2 separate regions of the Homo sapiens genome follow, and region 2 is linked to region 1. Evidence: promoter capture Hi-C in 16 types of primary human blood cells and fetal thymus (Javierre and others, 2016). All regions are on one chromosome and are shown on one strand. The core of a region is centred on a gene start or on the middle of the fragment in contact, and the rest is flanking DNA. Distances in the headings are between cores, read along the strand shown.

What was found. Contacts are between HindIII fragments. The CHiCAGO score rates a contact against its expected background, and 5 or more counts as called.
Region 2: a contact is called between a fragment that was not itself captured here and the fragment with the promoter of LRRC73 in region 1, in 2 of 17 cell types (total B cells and naive B cells). The highest score is 5.5, in total B cells.

Annotation. Positions count from the first base shown.
Region 1 is chr6:43,508,845-43,514,342 of GRCh38, forward strand. It overlaps LRRC73 (leucine rich repeat containing 73), which reads right to left and starts at 1,502. Exons shown (of 6, transcript NM_001012974.4): 1 at 670-1,502; 2 at 1-76. The coding sequence starts at 941. It overlaps YIPF3 (Yip1 domain family member 3), which reads right to left. Exons shown (of 9, transcript NM_015388.4): 4 at 4,744-4,789; 5 at 4,515-4,607; 6 at 4,225-4,356; 7 at 3,917-4,030; 8 at 3,596-3,719; 9 at 2,988-3,471. The coding sequence ends at 3,323. RefSeq lists silencers at 1,080-1,349, 1,370-1,659. The HindIII fragment of the contact is 9,076 bases long and covers 1-5,498 here.
Region 2 is chr6:42,980,260-42,986,056 of GRCh38, forward strand. LOC124900215 (a long non-coding RNA gene) reads right to left here and starts at 4,055. Exons shown (of 2, transcript XR_007059580.1): 1 at 3,573-4,055; 2 at 283-584. It overlaps PPP2R5D (protein phosphatase 2 regulatory subunit B'delta), which reads left to right and starts at 4,311. Exons shown (of 16, transcript NM_006245.4): 1 at 4,311-4,445. The coding sequence starts at 4,419. RefSeq lists silencers at 963-1,181, 4,360-4,429, 4,520-4,669 and an enhancer at 4,090-4,209. The HindIII fragment of the contact is 2,641 bases long and covers 1,431-4,071 here.

The DNA of each region.
Region 1 (5,498 bases), core at 252-2,751:
CACGAGGGCAGGGTGGAGGGCCAGGGCTGGGTTCAGCAAGGCCAGCCCCGCATCTGTCAGGGGGCTCCCATGCAGGCTGGAGGAGAGTGAGAGAGCAGGGTTACTGCAGTCCTCCGCACTATCTACATGGGAAAGGGGCACTTTCACTTCTGTCAGCCCTAGGTATGGGGAGGGCAGTCACAGCGCTTGAGAGGCCTGGAAAAGGAGAAGGAAAGTTCTAGATTCTCAGGGAATACAGATAGAGGGAGAATTCGGTTTGTTTTCTGGGGCAGGGATCCAGGACATTGCACAGGGAGGGGCAGAGAAGGGGTGGGTGGGTGGTGGACCGGAACTCTGCAGTGGGCAGGGCTCTCGTCCCCACGGGGATATTCCCCCTTGGGAACCAAGGAGCTGCCCCAGTGAAGTAAATGCAGATGATTAGGTGGGGAGGTACGGCCCCCACCTCATGTCAGGAACTGGTGGGTATCCCAACACGGCTAGGGTCGCGCGTGCAAAGTCCAAGCATGTGCTTGGAGGGTGCTGTGAAGGCATGGGCCGAGGCACGGTGTATGTGCATAAGGCATGTGAAGGTAGGATGGTACTGGAAGGAGTGTGGAGGAACAGGAGGTGCCAGGGGAGTGTATGGAAGGGTGCAGTGCCCGGGACCCCCTTGCGAGGGGGCGCACTCACAAGAGGGACTGGATGGAGCGGTTGGTCCGCAGAGCCTCAGCCAGCTGCTTGATGCGGCTGGGGCTGGACACGACGCCCAGGTTAAGGTTGAGCTGCGCCAGGGACGTGGCCCCGGCCAGGGCCCGGCAGATGCGGCCAAAGTCGCGGTCGCAGAGGCGGCAGCCGCGCAGTGAGAGCAGGCGCACGGCGTTGTCGCGAAGGCCGCGGCAGATGTCCCGCACCTCGGCGCCGGACAGCGGCTCCCCCGAAATCTGGATGGAGCTGGGCAGCATCGTGCCCACGGCTGGGCCTCCGGGTACGGGGCCGGAACGGAGGTTGGTGGGGCCGCGGGCGGGGCCGGGGATAGGGCCGGGGTCGGGGCCCCGGCAGGGGTCGCGGGCGGAGTGGGGCCGGGGGTGGAGGCGGCGGCTGTGGCGGAGGCTGCGGCTGCGGCGGAGGCTGCGGCGGGGGCGGAGAAGAGCTACCGGGACTGAGCCGGAGCCGGCCAGAGGTGCGGAGGCGTCCAGGGCGCGGGCCGGGCTGAAGTGGGGCGGCGCTGGGGCGGGGGCGGCCCGCACGGTCCGTGTCTGGGCGTTGGGGCGGGTGCGCGTTCCGGGGGTTGGGCAGGCGCTGCTCGGCGCTTGTCCTTGTCCCTCGCGGTCGCGGCGGCGGCGGCGGCAGCGGCAGCGAGCGGCTCAAGGGCTTCGGCTTACCGGTCTCGGCTAGGAGGCCGTACCCGCTCCCTCCTTCTCTGCCGCCCGGCTCCCCCCGACCACCCCGCGGGCCTGGCCGCACGGCTGGCAGAGAGAGCCTGAGGCGGGCGGCTGGCGGCAGCTCCGGCTCCAGCTCCAGAGAGCGAGCGGGCGGCGAGTTCCCATGGCAACGGCCGCGTCACCGGCGCTCGCCCCGCCCCCTGCCCGGCCAAGGCCACGCCGGCCCGCGAGGTTCGCGTACACTGGGTGGTTCGGGGCAAGGAGCTGGGAGCGATAGGCCGCTCTTCCCTTGGGAGTGGGGTCAGCCAACTGGCAGGCGGCAGGCGGCAGGGCTGAGTGGGTAGGGCTGACGGGGAGCGGAATGGAGGCACGCCCCGTGGAGATGGCGTTGGGCACGGTTACTGCTGCTTCTGCCCATTCTTCCATCCTTCCCCGTTCCTAAGGTCCATACCCCCGCCGGAATCCAGGGCACTGTTCCCTCCTATTTGGAAGGCCCCAGGGCCCTTTCATCCGCGCCGCGCCTCGCTCCCGCCCCCGTGACTCGAGGCGCAGCGTGCGTGGTGATCCCGGCCCATGGGGACTTCCCCGCTTGCTCCTCGCCAAGATGGCGGCCTCATCAGGGAGGCCCCAGGGGCCACGGCTGGGCAGAGCCAGCTTGAGCTGCTGGGGAGAAGGGTACCCCATAGGGTCCCTAGGGCAGGGGAGCCTCAGATAGATGCAAGGTCCTGGTGCCACACCTTCTCAGGTACGCAGGGCACTGTTGACATCTGAGGGTGTGTCCGTGCCGCGAGACTGGGGCAGCCAATACAAAGAAGGTGCCAGGGCCAGGGCCCTGGAGCACTGGTGAGGACGTGAAGGCGGCTGAGCCACACTGCACGGTGCAGGCGGTGCTGTCTCAACTTTGTCCTCTGGCCAGGGTGGTGGGGGACTCACTTGTGTAACGCAGGACAAATGAAGGGCACCTCTGTTTGTCCCTTTGTTAGGAGGGATAGATGCTGCTGACCCAGATTTACTAGTGTTAAGATGATTATTTTACATAAAATATAATATTCAATATAGTGAAGGGAGGTCAAAGGCCCTATTCCCACTCTTAGCCACCTGAATTAACTTATTAAGTGGAGCATATTAAAGAGGTGGTGGGGGTGGATGGTGCTATGTTAGGAGTGGTGGTTGGTTTTAAGAGGAAAGACAGAAAAACTAAAAGGAGCTGGCCCCAGTACCACCAAGGCAAAGCCAAATTTGGCTTCAATTAAGAGCTCCACAGGAAAATTATCAACACAATGCCCAGGTGCAGAAGATCCTTGTTTTGACACGGGGTTTAAGTCGGGATGTTTTGTTCAATTGTCACTGCTTCCTTGGCTTCCCAAGAGAGCAGCTGAGCCCAGACTCAAGCTGGCTGCAGTGTTCCATCAGGCTTATGGCTTTTGTGCTTGAGGCCTCCCTGCCGCTTCATGGGTCAGGTGTGATATTCAATCACTGCCTTCTATGTAGTCTGGCCTGTCCCACCTTTATCTTGCCTGGGTGAGGATATGAAGAAGGGAACATATGACATTACCACTGTTGACTGAGTAGGAAAGTATATAGGAAGCGGGATGACAGGGAGGACCACTGGATCAGCCGCTGCAGTTCCAGACTTCAATCAACATTTTAATTACCAAGTCTATATTTAGCAAGACAATGTGGGAGAGATAAAGAGGAAGGAAGGGGTAGGTGGGGAGGGGTTCTCAAAGGAGCTGACCCATTTTCTGCATTGGCTGCAGAGCCTTGCAGTCCTGGCCAGGAGTTCTTGGCCTTGTGCCTTTCAGAAGTGCCGACAGGCATCAAGGAGGTACTTACGCAGCTACAGCTCAGTGGCAGCTGCAAACCCCATCTACGAAACATGTCATCAGGACTGTCCTTTAATAGTCTTCCTCCTCTCTGCAGCTGCGGGAAAGAGGACTGGCCAAGAATTTCAGGTGGGGTCAGTGTGACTGCAGGGTCACCGCAACAGCTTTGGCTGTGGCGTTGAGGACGGTGGTGGGAAGCCGAGCAGCAGGGAGCATGGCAGGGATGTCTCTGGGGACCCTCTGGATGGGCGGGATGTTGGGGCCCTCCAGTGTGTCCAGGATCCCTGGAAGGAAGATGGAAGGTGAGCGAGGATCAGATGGGCCCAGCCCACCAGCCATCATATCTAGCTTCTTGCTCTAGGCAGCTGCTTTCCCATTCTCCCCCACCCAGACCTTCCTGCCACTTACCCTCTACCACTTTGTGGTAGGCAAAATGCAGATAGAGCAGGAAGAGCATGTGTAGGGCAGCCAGGGTGCCACAGAGGAGCAGCCGCTGTGTGGGGCCCACGGTCCGAGACACCAACACTGCTACCTAGGACCATGAGAATACAGCTCAAAGGGCCTGGCTCCAAAGTGAGGAGTGGGGACAAGACACCCCCACCCAGGGCAGAACCATCTTTGGGCTCTTCCCTCCCATTTAGGGCTCTTTGTGAGATGGACAGCTCCAGGCTGTCTTCCCCAACTCCCTGGGAGGACAGCCCACCCCTGGAAGCCTCTTGCCCAGCTTACCATGCGCAGTGTGGACAGTCCACCCACCAACAGCCAGAAGAGGTAGAAGAGGGCGTGGAGGTGGATATTATAGGTGATGAACAGGACAATGCAATGCCCAAAGAGGCCATAGCCCTGGGAAGGAGGATGGTGGAGAGGAAAATCATTCAGGTTGGGCTGCTTTCTGGCCCCTCATGGGGACCCTGGGAAACACATGGTCCATTGGCCTACTCCTCCCATTCCAGGCTTTGGGGCCCCAGGACAGATGCCGACCAAGGCCTGGCTACTCTTTTTAACATCACTCTTGCCCACCACACCTGGCTCCTTACCAGCAGTGCCAACATCTGCAGCATGGTGATCTGGGCGTTGCACAGGTAGGCAAGGAAGTAAATGAAGGATGAGACTCCCAGCCAGTAGCCGAAGCAGGTGCCAATGGCTGTGCCCATCAGGGTGCCCTCCCGCTGTGGGGTGAAGGCTCTATTTAGTCCTAGGAGGCCTCTGATCTCAGCCTCACCTAGGGCCTTCCGCAGGGGCTGTTCCTGTCTCACTCCACCATTGTATCCTCAGGCAGCTTTCAACCTAGTGCAGCCACCCCCCCAAAGTTGTCTGTCCTGCTTACGATAATAGTGTCAGACGTCTTCATCCCATGGAGTAGGATAGCAACCAGAGTGAAGACCAGCATGAGAGGTCCATAGAGTTCACCTGCAATTTTCTGTCAATATACCAATTCATTCAGGCTGGAGGGTACAACAGCTCATCTGTTTATGGCTTCCCAGGATTTGCCTGGTGGTCCCACCCTCTGCCCTGGTGCTTCCCCCGGCTCTCCAGACATGCCACCCTCTATTCACCTGGGGGAAGTTGACCATCTTGATAGGGATCATGGACTCCAGGAGCCTGGGAGAGGAGAGGAGAGATTAAAGCAAAGGCAGCACAAGGCCATGAGGTTCTGGAGGGCAAGGCCTGAATTTTATTCATCTCTAACTCCAGGGAATGGGGCCTGGCCTAGAAGACATGTTGGATGACACGGTAGAACAGGGTAGTAAAGACAGATAGGGAATGAGGAAATCATTTCCTTGCCCCTAAAGTTACTTCCAGGAAGGACAACCCTCTGAAACTTAGCTGACTGAAACAGCAGCTATATGGAGAACTCAGCCCTACTGGGCCTTGAAGGAGGGCCCGACCATGTATCCGTCTGCCCCCTCCCCTTGAAAAGACAGGCAGGCTGGGCGCGGTGGCTCACGCCTGTAATCCCAGCACTTTGGGAGGCCGAGGCAGGCAGATCACAAGGTCAGGAGTTTGAGGCCAGCCTGGCCAATATGGTGAAACCCTGTCTCTACGAAAAATACAAAAAATTAGCTGGGCATGGTGGCGGGCGCCTGTAGTCCCAGCTACTCAGGAGGCTGAGGCAGGAGAATTGCCTGAACCCGGGAAGCGGAGGTTGCAGTGAACCGAGATCGCGCCACTGCACTCCAGCCTGGGTGACAGAGTGCGACTCCATCTCAAAACAAAACAAAACAAAGACATGACAAGACAGGCAGACCTCAGCAGAGAGTACCCAGAATTCAGGGTTATAATGAGGAAGCCCTGGGAAAAGTCTAGCCGG
Region 2 (5,797 bases), core at 1,501-4,000, 530 kb before region 1:
TTTTTTTTGAGACGGAGTTTCGGTCTTGTTGCCCAGGCCAGAGTGCAATGGCACGATCTCAGCTCACTGCAATCTCCGCTTCCCAGGTTCAAAGAATCTCCTGCCCCAGCCTCCCAAGTAGCTGAGATTACAGGTGTGTGCCACCACACCCAGCTAATGTTGTATTTTCAGTAGAGACGGGGTTTCACCCTGTTGGTCAGGCTGGTCTCGAACTCCTGGCTTCAAGTGAGCCACCTGCTTACGCCTCCCAAAGTGCTGGGATTACAGGCATGAGCCACTGCGCCTGGACTAATTTTTTATTTTTTGTAGAGACAGAGTTTCTCTGTGTTGCCTAGGCTGGTCTCAAACTCCTGGTCTGAAGAGATCCTCAGGCCTCAGCCTCCCAAAGTGCTGGGACTACAGGCATAAGCCATCATGTCCCACTGCATTTCCAATTATTAACAATTATTTTCACTTACAATAAATGAATTGGATGGTGCCAATCTCCATTTTCTAGACCTTACATTCTCTTTCAGCTACTGCTCAGCTTTCTCCATCTCTCCTTTCTTCTTGAGGCAGTCTTCTATTTTGTACATTATACATTCCTGAAAATTTGAAAGACAAATATATGAAAACTATTAGATTTGCATATTATAAGGGGCTGGGCGCAGTGGCTCATGGCTGTAATCCCAGCACTTTGGGAGGCCAAGTGGGTGGACTGCTTGAGGCCAGGAGTTTGAGACCAGCCTGGCCAACATGGTGAAACCCCGTCTCTACTAAAAATACAAAAATTAGCTGGGTATGGTGGTGTGTGCCTGTAGTCCCAGCTACTCGGGAGGCTGAGGCAGGAGAATGGCGTGAAGCCGGGAGACAGAGCTTGCAGTGAGCCGAGACTGCGCCACTGCACTCCAGCCTGGGTGACAGAGTGAGATTCCGTCTCAAAAAAATAAATAATAGAAAAAAATAAATAAAATAGCATGCAAGAATGTACTAACCAGGAACCATGGCTTGTGTCTATAATCCCAGCTATGGGGAGGCTGAGGCAGAAGGATCACTTGAACCCAGGAATTTGAGGCTATGATTGTGCCACTGCACTCCAAGTGGGTGACAGAGCAAGACCTTGTCTCTTAAAATATATAAAATTAAAAGAAAAAAAAACTAAATAAAGAATGTTCTAGGTACCTAGATTCACATGGATGAAAGTTCCCATTTGGTAGTGCTACTATATGTTTCTTGGTCCCCTATGTCCCAGAGGAACCAAGGGCTAGATAGATGGTACATGGGCCTAAAGAGGATATGCCTGCTTTCCTCAGTAGCAGGCAAGCTCTAGGCCTCAGGACTATAGTGCTCCTTGAGGCCTTGGAGATGGGTAAAAACATCAGTTATCTTGCCTGGATCAGCACTCATACAGACACAAATACCCACCCACAAATAAATGTCCTTTTCTCCCAAGCTTTTCTCCCAGCAGGTAACAGCGGGCATGTAGTCCACTTTGTGTTACCCTGAAATCGTCATTAGTCACCGAAAGCCAAATACTACTTCTGTAAGATCGCCAGGACCCTACATTTGCCATCTTCACTTCCTCACCTCTTGATGCTCACTCTTCCACTCACTAAAAACGGTCTTCCACTCTCTGAAAAAATCACCCATAATCTTCTAATTGCAGAATCAAGATGATGCTGTTCTTTCTCTGACACTACTGACCAATTGTCTTTTATTTCCTTTGCCATTATGACACCAGTTGTCCTCCTACAACTCTGATCACTTCCAGAAATCATCCTCAACTCTTCCCTTTCCGTTACCGTCCCCCCCACAATACAATGAATCACCATATCCTGTTGATTCTACACATTTTCATGCTCCATCCTCTCTTCTCCATCCCCACGGCCACTGTCTTGTAACATTGCTCTCCTGGGTACCTGGGTAAGGGACACAGGTTTTGTGTTTTTTTTTTTTTTTTTCAGATGGAGTCTTGCCCTGTCGCCCAGGCTGGAATGCAATGGTGCGATCTCGGCTCACTGCAAACTCCACCTCCCGGGTTCAATGGATTATCCTGCCTCAGCCTCCTGAGTAGCTGGGATTACAGGCACCCACCGTCATGCCTGGCTAATTTTTGTATTTTTGTAGAGACGGGGTTTTGCCATGTTGGCCAGGCTGGTCCTGAACTCCTGACCTCAGGTGATCCGCCCTCCTCAGTCTCCCAAAGTGCTGGGATTACAGGCGTGAGCCACTGCGCCTGACCTTTTTTTTTTTTAAGACTAAATATTTTATTTTATATAGAATTTTAAAAATTTATTTTTTGTACATGAATAAGTTCTTTAGTGGTGATTTATGAGATTTTGATGCAGCCATCACCCAAGCAGTGTATACTGTACCCAATGTGTAGTATTTTTTTTTTTTTTTGAGACGGAGTCTTGCTCTGTCGCCCAGGCTGGAGTGCAGTGGCATGATCTAGGCTCACTGCAACCTCTGCCTCCCGGGTTCACGCCATTCTCCTGCCTCAGCCTCCCGGGTAGCTGGGACTACAGGCGCCTGCCACCACGCCCGGCTATTTTTTTGTATTATTTTAGTAGAGACGGGGTTTCATCGTGTTATCCAGGATGGTCTCGATCTCCTGACCTCGTGATCCGCCCGCCTCGGCCTCCTAAAGTGCTGGGATTACGGGCGTGAGCCACCGCGCCCGGCCTCCATTGTATCATTCTCATGCCTTTGCATCACAGGTTTCTTCTTTTTTTTTTGTAGACGGAGTCTTGCTCTGTCGCCCAGGCTGGAGCGCAGTGGCATGATCTCGGCTCACTGCAACCTCCACCTACCGGGGTCAAGTAATTCTCCTGCCTCAGCCTCCTACCGGGTTCAAGTGATTCTCCTGCTTCAGTCTCCCGAGTAGCTGGGACTACAGGCGCGCGCCACCACGCCCCGCTAATTTTTGTATTTTTCATAGAGGCATGGTTTCACCATGTTGGCCGGGATGGCCTCGATCTCTTGACTCGTGATCCGCCCACCTCGGCCTCCCAAAGTGCTGGGATTACAGGCGTGAGCCACCGCACCCTGTCTAATTTTTGTATTTTTAGTAGAAATGGGGTTTCACCACTATGGTCAGGCTGGTCTCAAACTCCTGACCTCGTGATCTGCCCACTTTGGTCTCCCAAAGTGTTGGGACTACAGGCGTGAGCCACCGAGCCTGGCCACAGGTTTATTCTTTTTGTCGTCATTGTTGCTGTTTTGAGACAGAGTCTTGCTCTGTCGCCCAGGCTGGAGTGCAGTGGTGTGATCTCGGCTCACTGCAACCTCCGTCTCCCGGGTTCAAGTGATTCTCCTGCCTCAGCCTCCCGAGTAGCTGGGATTACAGGCGTGCACCACCACACCCAGCTAATTTTTGTATTTTTAATAGAGACGGGGTTTCGCCATGTTGGCCAGGCTGGTCTCGAACCTCTGACCTCAGGTGATCCTCCTGCCTCAGCCTCCCAAAGTGTTGGGATTACAGGCGTGAGACACCGTGCCTGCCTGGTTTACATTCTCTCTTAATCCTTTGTTTATACACATCTGTGATTCACCAGACTGCGAACTCTTTGTGGGCATAAACTGAGTCTTACCCATTAGAACACGGACTTGAGCAGGGTGGCAAGTAAGGGATGGATTTCCTGAGACAGTCAACAATGAAGTTGCTTTTCCACTGCGTTCCCAACTGCTCAAATCTAGCTGGTTCCCCAATCCCAGTACACTTGCAGTAGCAACGGGGACCCTCTTCCTAAAGTTGCACCAAGCCAGGGATTCTCCACTCATTTCGCCCAGGTCCTAGCCCTGCCAGGCTTCCCCTTTGCTCCTCTGCAACCCCTGTCTAGGGAGGCGGGTGTCTTGGAAGGTCCTTGGGAGCTCCCTCCATCAATTTTGCATCTGCAATTAGGGCTACTTTACCCCAGTGAAGAAAGGTGCCCTCCGTATTAGGGCTTCCTTCCTCCAATTCCGACTGGACAGGGTAGCAGAGCGGGCAAAGTGTGAGAGCCTTTAGAAGGAAAGAGCAGGGCTCCAAGCGCCGCGAAGAATGGCCGAGGCCGACGCACAGCAGACGCTGGAGTGCAGCCCTCCTAGCCAAGCTTGGGTTTCCCCTTATCCCCGCCTCCTTCTCTAAGCTCGACCCACTTTAGGGCGGGACCACCCACTTCAGCCAATTCTGGAAGCCGAACCCTGGCGGTTTGTACTATTTCTTTCCAATAAGAAAAAAAGGAAGCAGCTTGGCTCCAATGACCAATCCGAGGAGGCGGCGCCTGGTTGTCAGGCAGTTTTGTAGGAGTTCGGGCCAATTGGAGGCGCAGGCACCGCTCGACCCGGGCGCAGCGCGCAGGCGGTGGCGAAGAGACGCCGAGCGGGCCGAGTGCGGCCGAGCAAAGCCGGAGCCGGAGCGGGGCCGCAGGAGACGGGCCGGGTCCGGACGGGCCGAGATGCCCTATAAACTGAAAAAGGAGAAGGTGAGCGTGGCCCTTTTTCCCCCACCGCCGCCTTGGAGCCTGCGCGGAGCTCTGGGAGGGGCCGGAGCCAGGCCCGGGACAGCCCCAGACTGACCCTCCCGTCCAGCCCCCGCAGGACTCCTGGGGCCAGCCCTCCGCCCCCGCGGCTGGCAGCACCCCCAGCTTGTGCCGCAGCTAGGACAGCTCCCCCACCTTGCCCCGGAGAGACTCCCCCCACATACACCTCCCTCCCTTCTTCCCTTCTCTTACCCCCGGCCCAGGGTAACCTCCTTCTTCCAGATCTGCCCCATTCCCAGGTCACTGTCCTGCTTTTTCTGTCCCCCCCATCACCCCTGGCCCCGATCCCCCTTCGGTTTGGGCAGCCCCTCATCTGAAACTGCACCTTCCTCCAGAATTGCCCCCTCGCCCCGCCCTGAGCAGCCCCTTGTCTCCTCTTCCTACCCGCCTGGGACAGCCGCCCCGCAGTCCCCTACGGCCCCTTCTCTTTCCATGCCAAGCCCCTGACCTAGAACAGCGCTGCTTTCTCTCTCCTCCACCCAAATCTGGCCTAGGCCCCTCCCTCTAGTTCTTCCTTCACACACAAACTTGTAAGCAGGACTGAGCCCTTCTGTTGATGGAACCTCACAACGTTGGTGCTGGAAGGGACCTCTGAGCGCATGCAGTGCAATCCCTAATGGTACAGATGAGGAGACTGAGGCCCCGACAGGGCAAGGGACTTGTCCAAGGTCACACAGCCTGCTGGAGGCCCAGCTGCAATATCAGGTCTCCTGACTTAAAGGCCTCTTTTGTATCAAAGCCCTCCTAACTGTCACCCAAGTGCATCCTAGACCAGTCACCTTTCCTAATCTGAGTAGGCTCCTCACCCTTATTCTTAATCCTAGGATAACCTTTGCATTTTTCCTTTTTTTTTTTCTTTTCGCACCAGTGCTGGATTTCTGCCTTTCCTAAGCTACACCATCTTCAAATTGGGAATTTGTCCTCACTGTCAGATTATTGTTCCTTCTTAGCCTGCAGGCCAGCCACCCCTGAACACCCATGTCTTTATCATGATGTCCTGACACAGGCCATTTCTTTTTTTTTTTTTTTTTTTGAGATGGAATTTTGCTCTTGTTGCCCAGGCTGGAGTGCAATGGCGCGATCTCGGCTCACCACAACCTCTGCCTTCTAGCTTCAAGCGATTCTCCTGCCTCAGCCTCCCAAGTAGCTGGAATTACAGGCATGCGCCACCACATCCGGCTAATTTTGTATTTTTAGTAGAGACGGGGTTTCTCCATGTTGATCAGGCTGGTCTTGAACTCCTGACCTCAGGTGATCTGACCCCCTCGGCCTCCCAAAGTGCTGGGATTACAGGT